Regions from separate parts of the Homo sapiens genome. Here region 1 is linked to region 2. Evidence: promoter capture Hi-C in human tissues and cell types (Jung and others, 2019). All regions are on one chromosome and are shown on one strand. Each heading gives the region's core, a stretch centred on a gene start or on the middle of the fragment in contact. The rest is flanking DNA. Distances are from core to core; before and after follow the strand shown. Region 1 holds the start of ZSCAN29 (zinc finger and SCAN domain containing 29). Region 2 overlaps TTBK2 (tau tubulin kinase 2).

Region 1 (4,564 bases), core at 877-3,376, 450 kb after region 2:
CCTCACCGCTCCTTTGAAAAGGTTTGAGCTTCTCCTTTGGGTTCATCTGCTCCTGTGGTCCCAGGTCTGGGCTTCTTGCCCTCTCTTTCTTGGGTACACCCCTGGGCTGGGGTTCCACTGACTCCTGCCGAACACTTAATAACTCTTGTGATGATTTCGGGGGTGTCATCTTCTCCAAGCGCACTTCCTGCCCCTTCACAGAGACTGTGACCTAGAAACAACCCCCGTTAATTGTCACTGCAAGATCATAATGAGGGGCATTCCCAGAGGAGAGTATTTAATACCCCAAAAGAGATCATCTTTCAGAGCCATGGCCAGGGTTGTAGGGGTGAGGGAGGTTAACGCGAACAAGGGTCTTATTCCATTGCCATTAGCTTAAAGCAGTTGAAACTCCAGAAGGAAACGATCAAAATAGTAAACCCACCTTCAGGCTGAAAAAAAAAAATCCCCTTTCTTCCCTATTAAGAAACTATAGGAAAAACTCATTATGACAGGGTAGGTGAAGGTACACCCAGGAAGCATCTCCAGACAAGCACTATCTGAAAAAGTTACCTATACCAGACCAGAAGTATAAGCCTCACCAAGGGAGACTGTGTCCCTCTTTAAGCCTGTCTATATCTTAATTTAGCCCTCCACCCAGTATCACACTTTTGAATTTGAATTCCCCCTCCCTTCTCACCGAAGATCTAGGTCTTCCAGGCTCTCTTTCTAAATCTTCCACGAGAGTCACTGCCTCCTCTCCATTTTCTGGACATTGTTCCTGTACCCAATTCTGGATCTCCCCAGGTAAGACGGTCAGGAACTGCTCTAGCACCAACAGTTCTACAATCTGCTCCTTGGTGCGCACCTCCGGCCTTAGCCACCGACAGCAAAGTTCCCAGAGTTGGCTGAAAGCCTCCCGCGGCCCAGCCACCTCCTGGTAATGGAATCTCCTGAAACGCTGTCGGAAGGTCTCAGAGTTAGTGCCATTCTCTCTTAGAGCTGATTTGGCCATCATTAATAGCAGAATGCAGCTTCCCTTCGCTTAGGAGTCTGGGTTCCAGGGCTTACATCTATCTTCCCATGTCCTTGGAGAATCCCCTGCAGATGACTGTAAGAGGTGTTTCTTCCTAGGGCAGAGAAAGATGGCACTATCAGAAGGAATACATTCATATGTCTAAAGTCTTGCCAGAGCTGGCCTGCCTTTCCATGTGCTCCGAGTGGCCTTCTAAGGTAGCACAATCTTCAGTAAATAGACTTTGCAAAAACTGCTTTTCTGGTTGACTTCCAGGGCAGCCCCAGGAAGCAGCAGAGAATAAAAGTACTGTCTGCCCCTCTCCCACCTCCTCCAAATCCGATCCCATTTAACTTCCCTGGCCAATGTTGCACAGTGAGTCCGAACCATATAGGAGAGCTGGAGTTCGAGAGGATCTAAAGACAAGTCACCATCCTGCTTGAAGGCAACAAAAAGCCTCTGTCCAGCTGGTCGCAGCTGATCTCCCCCAGTATCTCCGCAGTCCTTCCCGAGGCCTTCTGCGTCCGCCCCGCCCCCTCGGGCTGCACAACTCCCAAAGCCCACCCCAGGCAAAAATCACGTCCAGAATCTCGGGTCTTTGTTTTCCCCGCGTAGTAGTAGCCGCTCAGCAAGGATTAGGGAGCTACCTGTCGGAAAACCTCGCGCAAGGAGAGAAGCTGGTTTTGGCTCCAAAGCGAGGACCATGGGGGCTTGGGGAGAGTCACATTGGGCAGGAGAGACGGAATCCGAGGAGCAGTAGTAACGGGCTTCCTGAGGACGGGCTCGGGTGTCGGCCAGAGGCTCCAGGTGCTGCCGGTTCGCGGACGCAGAGCTCTCAGCCCAAGGAGCAGCGGCTGCGGGATTCTGGCCTCTTTTGTCTCCGCTCCCTCCGGCCGGGTAACCCGGAGCCGTCGTGCGGTCCCTCCAGAGGCCTCTGACCCGGCTAAGGCGCCCTGAGGGCGCCCTCCAGCCCACCCCTGGGAGCGTCTCCCTCTCGAGCTGCCCCTCAACCCCCTCGCATCCTTGCCTCCGGGCCAGCCTCACCCACTCGGGGTCCGACCCTGACCCCGGCCCCGGCCCCGGCCCCGGCCCCGGCTCTCCAGCCTCCCAAGTACAGCTCCCAAACCGGAAGTCCGAGCGGGCGGCTCGGGGCACCGAGGGCGCATGCGCGAGGGCAGCGACCGCGACTCAGTCTCCGCAGAGCCCGGGCGGGAGTAGCTGGTGGACCCCGTTGAGCTGCCGAACTTCCGGGACTCCCCCGCGACCCCTTCCCAGCTTCCCGTCCGCTCCGCCGCAGCGATTGTCTCGGTGGGTTGATTCGGCACAAACCGCCCGACCCAGGGGCCGGTGCGCGTGTGGAAGGGGAAGCACTCCCCTCGTGGTCGCCTGGAGGTGCGCTGGAGGAGGGGGTGACATAACCAGGGACTCGAGGTCCGCCGTGGGAATGATCCACGAACTGCTCTTGGCTCTGAGCGGGTACCCTGGGTCCATTTTCACCTGGAACAAGCGGAGTGGCCTGCAGGTACTGTCCGGCGCAGAGCGCGGGAACCAGGGAGCGCAGGAGGGGGGACCTGAGCCAGCGCCTGGGGGAGTAGGCTGAGGGACCTAGCGAGCGGGGCTTCCAGGGCTGGGGGCGTATCCCTGGACAGGTGACTGGAGGGCAGCCCCTTAGGGTCAAGGCTGATGCGACACCTAGAGAGGCCGGGCCTAGGCTAGAAAACGGAGGGCAGACCTCGAAGAGCCCCACCTGTGGCGGGGCGAGGAAAGGGCCTGAGGTCCAGGTGTCTGACAGTTGCTGGGGAATGATATAGAAGTGTGGGAGGCACTTTCTCCTATTTATTTTCACACGTGCATTGTTTGAGTTTTGAAGTACTGGGCCAAATACACAGCTCCCAAACACATGGTAAGCGCTCAGTAAAGTTTGTTGAAGGAAATAAATGAAATCGAGAGCGTGTGGTGTTTCCCTCATTACTCCTTTACCAGAAAATTTCTGCACTAGGTAAAGCACTTGGTAGGGGGCCTTTGTGTAACCAGGAATGTATGATGTTCCGTATGCATTATCTTATTTAATCCTCACAACCACCTTATCCATTTTACAGATTAAGCTAGGTTTAGAATAGTTAAATAACTATCGGGGTCATAGCTAGTAATTAACAGAGCTTAGTTTTGAAGCCAGGTCTGTCTGGCTTCAGTATTTGAACTACTTTTACCTGCTTCTGCTTCCAGTAATGTTATCTAATGCTCTCAATAATTTAGTCCACTTAGGTATTGTTTCTACCAGTTAACAAATGAGCAAACTGAAGCTCAGAAAACTTTATGCTGGCCAGTCCTAGTAGTGGCAAGACTGAAATCTAGGTCCGTCTGATCACCAAGACATGCCGATTCTTAGGAGACTGTGGAAGAGCAGAAAAAGTACATTCTTAGTCTATAAAACCTATAAATCAAACAGTTTCCTTTCGTTATTATTTATGAACATGTATTTGGAGTTTGGGAGTTTAGGTGAATTTTTGAAAAAAACAGGTGAAGATTTGTGTGGTGGAGTTTGAATTGTTATCTTTCACCTGTAGGTCTTTGAAGACTAATTCGATGTTTCACTTTTCTCCATAGATCTTAGTACAATGCCAGGCATATAGGAGGACAGTATTTAGGAAGTATGTGGGTGCCTGATGGTCCAAAATAAGAAGAGATAACACAGTACAGGAAAGATAGCTAGGGAGGGGGTGGGGGAGACAACCACAAGTAATTCATCTTTTCCCTTCCTTTCTTTCTTATGAAAAATTCTCAATCATGTATTTTCTACCATTTCATCCTCAAGGTCTCAGCTTTAAAGTCACTTTGTCAGAAAAACTTTCTCTGAGCACATCTTTAAGCATCCTCCCCTGATGCCATTATTCTCCATCAACTTGTTTATTTCCCTTGTAGGATTTGTCACAATTCATAATGTATTGTTGTTACCTGTTTTTAGCCTTTCTCCCGCATAGATTGCCCCTGGGAGCGAAGACCAGTGGTCTTCTTCATTCATCTACCCAGAGCACCTAGCACAGTTTCTGCCACATAGCAGGTGTTTAGGTATTGATGGAAGAAAAGAAGACAAAGATGGCAAATATTACATAATTTCTGCAGAGCAGTGTCTTTTACATTTGAGTAAAGGGAAAAGTTGTCATGAGTGCCAAGTGTTAATGAAAATTATTTTATTATATTGAATATGTATATACATAAGCTAGGTATAAACTCAAGCATAATACTCTTAAACAACTATAAAATCAAATATTTTTATAAATTAAAAGTAAACAAAACTACCAAATCAATAAGTTCAAATGACCATTATTCTAATGCAGGATTTCTCAGCCTGTTCCTATAACTGTGTTATATAGAATGGTATCAGTAACTTCGAGTTATTATTTGCTGTTTCAGAATAATTAGATATTGAACTTTTCGAAAACTCTGCCAACAAGAAACGCTCAAATGCCAATTTTAATAGTAGTATCACTTGATAACTGGTAGAGCTGTCTTGTTAATAATATAAAATTGCTTATGTGTATTGAGCACTAGCTATGTGGTTGGGATATG
Region 2 (4,143 bases), core at 1,441-3,940:
CTTGCAGTGAGCCGAGATCACGCCACTGCACTCCAGCCTGGGCGACAGAGCGAGACTCCGTCTCAAAAAAAAAAAAGTAAAGAGAAGCTTTACAGGTCAGTATGGTTACAATTACTGACAACAAAAGTGTAAACAACCTAGTTTTCCTCTCCCTGGCTACCATACTAGCAACACATAAACAAATTCTTCCCTTATAGGAAGTACAGTATAACTTACATGACCAGATTGTTAAGGAAAACACTACACATTCCTTGGGTAAACAAAATCATTCCTCGGGTAAAATCTACTATAACCAAATCAACCGAGCAAAGCATTATGTCTATGATCTTCCCACTAACACAAAGAAAAATCAATACAGAACCTTTTCTGTATCTTCACTGCAATAACATTTTAAGTATATTAACTTCCTTTTTTTTTTTTTGAGATGGAGTTTTGCTCTGTCACCCAGGCTGGAGTGCAATGGTGCTGTCTCGACTCACTGCAACCTCCACCTCCCGGATTCAAGCGATTCTCCTGCCTCAGCCTCCCAAGTAGCTGGGACTACAGGTGCGTGCCACCATACCCGGCTAATTTTTATATTTTTTAGTAGAGACAGGGTTTCACCATATTGGCCAGGCTAGTCTCAAACTCATGACCTCGTGATCTGCCCGCCTCAGCCTCCCAAAGTGCTAGGATTATAGGCATGAGCCACCACGCCTGGCCTTAACTTCCTTTTTCAAAAACAGCAAAACTGGCCAGCCACAGTATAATATAATATATCCTAATATATTATATCCTAATCACTTGTACATTTAATGAATCACCGATAAGCTGCTGGACCCTAGCTACAGAGACACTATAGCCATCTACTTGGAACACCTCTTTCTTGTAACCATGGCTTGTACTCTGGCTTCTGGTAACACAGTCCTAAGTTCTCATGGTTCAAACAGAGAGTGTAAAACCATAACATAGGAACTCTGTCAGTATTCAAGTAATTGAGGCTTGGGAGAATCCAAAGTAGAAACCCATATTGGAGGGAGAGTGGGGACTCTTTAGGACAAAACTCTTTCAAGTGTTCTTGTGTTCTGAAAGAACTTGTCTAAAGCTGTTTCATGGGTTGTGTGGACATTTAATTTCAAATAGTCTTTTAAATTTAAAAACATTTATTTTGTCATTATTTATTTAATTATTTAACTAATTATAGGGATAATATATCCACTAGCCTCTGACTCTGGTGAAGTATGTAGAATGAACTGTGGCTGATGAAACAGAAACTTCTTCCCTGAACCCACCTCTTGACTGTTAGGTCTGTTAAATGCTCATGTCTGCATCTTCCCTTCATAATACCTGGAACACTTGTAATTCCTTCTCCTGCAAATCTCTGCTTCCACTATTTGTAAGCTCCAAAAGTGAGTAGATTATTTGTCTTGTTGGCTGTTAAATCTCCAACCCCTAGCACAGTAACATGGTAGATGCTTAGCAAGTATTTAATCAAGGAATGAGGCTACTGTTACACAGTAATCCCCCTTATCCATGGTTTCACTTTCTGCAGTTTCAGTTACCCGTGGTCAACCACAGTCCAAAAATATTAAATGGAGAATTCCAGAAATAAACAATTCATACGTTTTAAATTGTATATTGTTTTGAGTATGGTGATGAAATCTCAAGCTGTTCAGCTCTGTTGCACCTAGGACGTGAACCATCCCTTTGTCCAGCATGTATCTGCACCGTCTGTGCTGTTTGTCACTTAGTAGCCATCTTGGTTGTTAGATCACTGTCTCAGTATAGCAGTGCTTGTGTTCAAGTAACTAACTCTTATTTTACTTAATAATGGCCCTAAAACACAAGAGTAGTGATGCTGGCATATTACGATAACTGTTCTATTTTATTAGCTATTGTTATTATTCCCTTACTATGCTTAATTTATAAACTTTATCACAGCCATGTATGTATAGGAAAAGCATAATTATCTATAGGGTAAGGTACTATCTGAGGTTTCAGGCATCCACTGGGGGTCTTGGAATGCATGCCCCTTAGATGGGGATGACTACAGTAGTTTAAAGTTTCACAGAGACCAAAGTAAGGTGGTAGCAATGGAAATAAAATGCAGAGGGCTAGGCATTGTGCCTCATGCCTATAATTCCTGCACTTTGGGAGGCTGAGGTGGGAGGATTGCTTGAATTCAGGAGTTCAAGACCAGCCTGGGCAACATAGTGGGACCCCACCTATACAAAAAATTGTAAAATTAGCCAAGTGTGGTGGCACATGCCCGTAGTCCCAGCTACCCAGGAGGCTAAGGGGGGAGGACTGCCTGATCCCAGGAGGTCAAGGCTGCAGTGAGCTACGATCATGGCACTCCAGCCTGGGCAACAGAGCAAGACCCTGTCTCCAAAAAAAGAAAGAAAGCAGAGGTTTTGTGTGGGTGAGATCCAGGAGAAATAGGGAGCAAAAAGAAAAAAGAAAAAAGAAAAGAGAGAGAGAGAATGTGTGTTTTGATCCTGTATGACTAAATGATAATGCCTTTATTTATAGAATTAAGGAAGTTAAAAAGAGAACTGACTATTATCTTGGATATGTTGAATTTTTTAAGTGCTAGGGAAGTCCAGCAGAAATGAAGTCCTAATCTAGTTTATTATCTACCATATAATTTAGCCTCCAGATGATTTTTCTTAAATCAAATTTCCATGAGAGGCAAGGCTCACATTTTTTTCTTTGGTTATTCATTTTTTCCTATTTTCCTCCCCTCATCTTCGCCTTATTGGTCATTGAAAAATGTTTTTTGTTTTTGTTTTTGATACAGAGTTTCACTCTGTCACCCAGGCTGGAGTGCAGTGGCACAATCTTAGCTCACTGCAACCACCGCCTCCGGGTTCAAGCAATTCTCCTGCCTCAGCCTCCCAAGTAGCTGAGATTACAGGTGCATGCCACCACATCCTGCTAATTTTTCTATTTTTAGTTGGGATGCGGTTTCGCCACGTTGGCCAGACTTGTCTCCAACTCCTGACCTCAAGTGATTCAATTACCTACCTTGGCCTCCCAAAGTGCTAGGATTACACGTGTGAGCCACCACACCCGGCTGAAAAATGGTGATAAAACTTTTAGATATTTTTGAAACTGAAGCACTTGGAGGATCAAGAAATTTAAAAAGACTTTACAAACTTCATCTATAATATATAACGTGGAAAATTCAATGTTGGAAAAATATGAACAAAATATAGTCTTTCAATGATCATATGGCTAGAACAAGATGATGGAAACTGCAACTCCATTTTTTTAAAGGCAACTACTTTGAAACTGCAGAAAGAAAAAGACAAATATAAAAATATTAATTATAAAACCATTTTGGTAAAAACATATATAATGGCAAATATGTTTTCTAATTCAAACATTTTAAAATGCTGATTCTTGTTTTCAATAAAGATGTTAATTCTCTGTTTAAAAAAATAATGATTCTGAAAACATGGTTAAATCTCGATAGCTTACCAAAGGAAGCTAAGAAGCTACTTAGTAACTTCCACTCTTTAGGAGGCACTATTACATCCCAGATTCTTTTCAAAGGACACTTAAGTTTTTCACATTGGGAAGCTTTACCCTAACTGAAGTGAAAGCAAATTCCTATATACAATAAAAAACAGCTATAAACACTCCAAAACACCAAGGATTATAGAGACAAAGGTTAAAAAAAAAATCACAGGAAAAAAAATCCAAAATGTTCACAAAAGTTTGTAAGTACTATATGTTCACTTAAGCATCAAGAATAAAGTCACATGACATTAATGAAAATATACTAAGAAGGCTATTTAAAAATAACCAACTGAAAAGAAGAAACTATCTAGCAAAATTGACATTCATATTATGTTATAATATAATTTCAATCTGTATTATAAACCTATAATCAAGGATCACCAGACTTTAATGAGGCAGTTTTGAGTAGTAATATGTGTTGTCCTTATGCTCAAAATTTAGTTCTAAAAAACTGAATTTTTTCATATGACCTTAAAGGCTCTTTCACCAAATATGTACGATATTTAACTTGAAAGCTTTCAGTACTTTCGGCATAAAAGGTTCTATCCACTGAAGCCTGGGGAAAAAACTTCCACTACCACACATTGTTTACAATATGCTGGATGACAAAAAAAAAAAAGACTAGGAAATAAAACTAAA

What was found. Contacts are between HindIII fragments. The study calls those that stand out against the background at their distance.
Region 1: the fragment with the promoter of ZSCAN29 here is called in contact with a fragment that was not itself captured in region 2 in 1 of the 25 tissues and cell types used here (hippocampus).

The regions. Positions count from the first base shown.
Region 1 is chr15:43,368,917-43,373,480 of GRCh38, forward strand. ZSCAN29 (zinc finger and SCAN domain containing 29) reads right to left here and starts at 2,127. Exons shown (of 6, transcript NM_001372080.1): 1 at 1,642-2,127; 2 at 680-1,109; 3 at 7-211. The coding sequence starts at 997. TUBGCP4 (tubulin gamma complex component 4) reads left to right here and starts at 2,185. Exons shown (of 18, transcript NM_014444.5): 1 at 2,185-2,516. The coding sequence starts at 2,439. RefSeq lists a silencer at 1,826-2,095 and an enhancer at 2,196-2,315. The HindIII fragment of the contact is 7,589 bases long and covers 1-4,564 here.
Region 2 is chr15:42,913,574-42,917,716 of GRCh38, forward strand. All of the region lies in intron 1 of TTBK2 (tau tubulin kinase 2), which reads right to left. Among named protein-coding and RNA genes, the nearest start is that of TTBK2, 5.1 kb to the right of the region's middle. The HindIII fragment of the contact is 6,776 bases long and covers 1-4,143 here.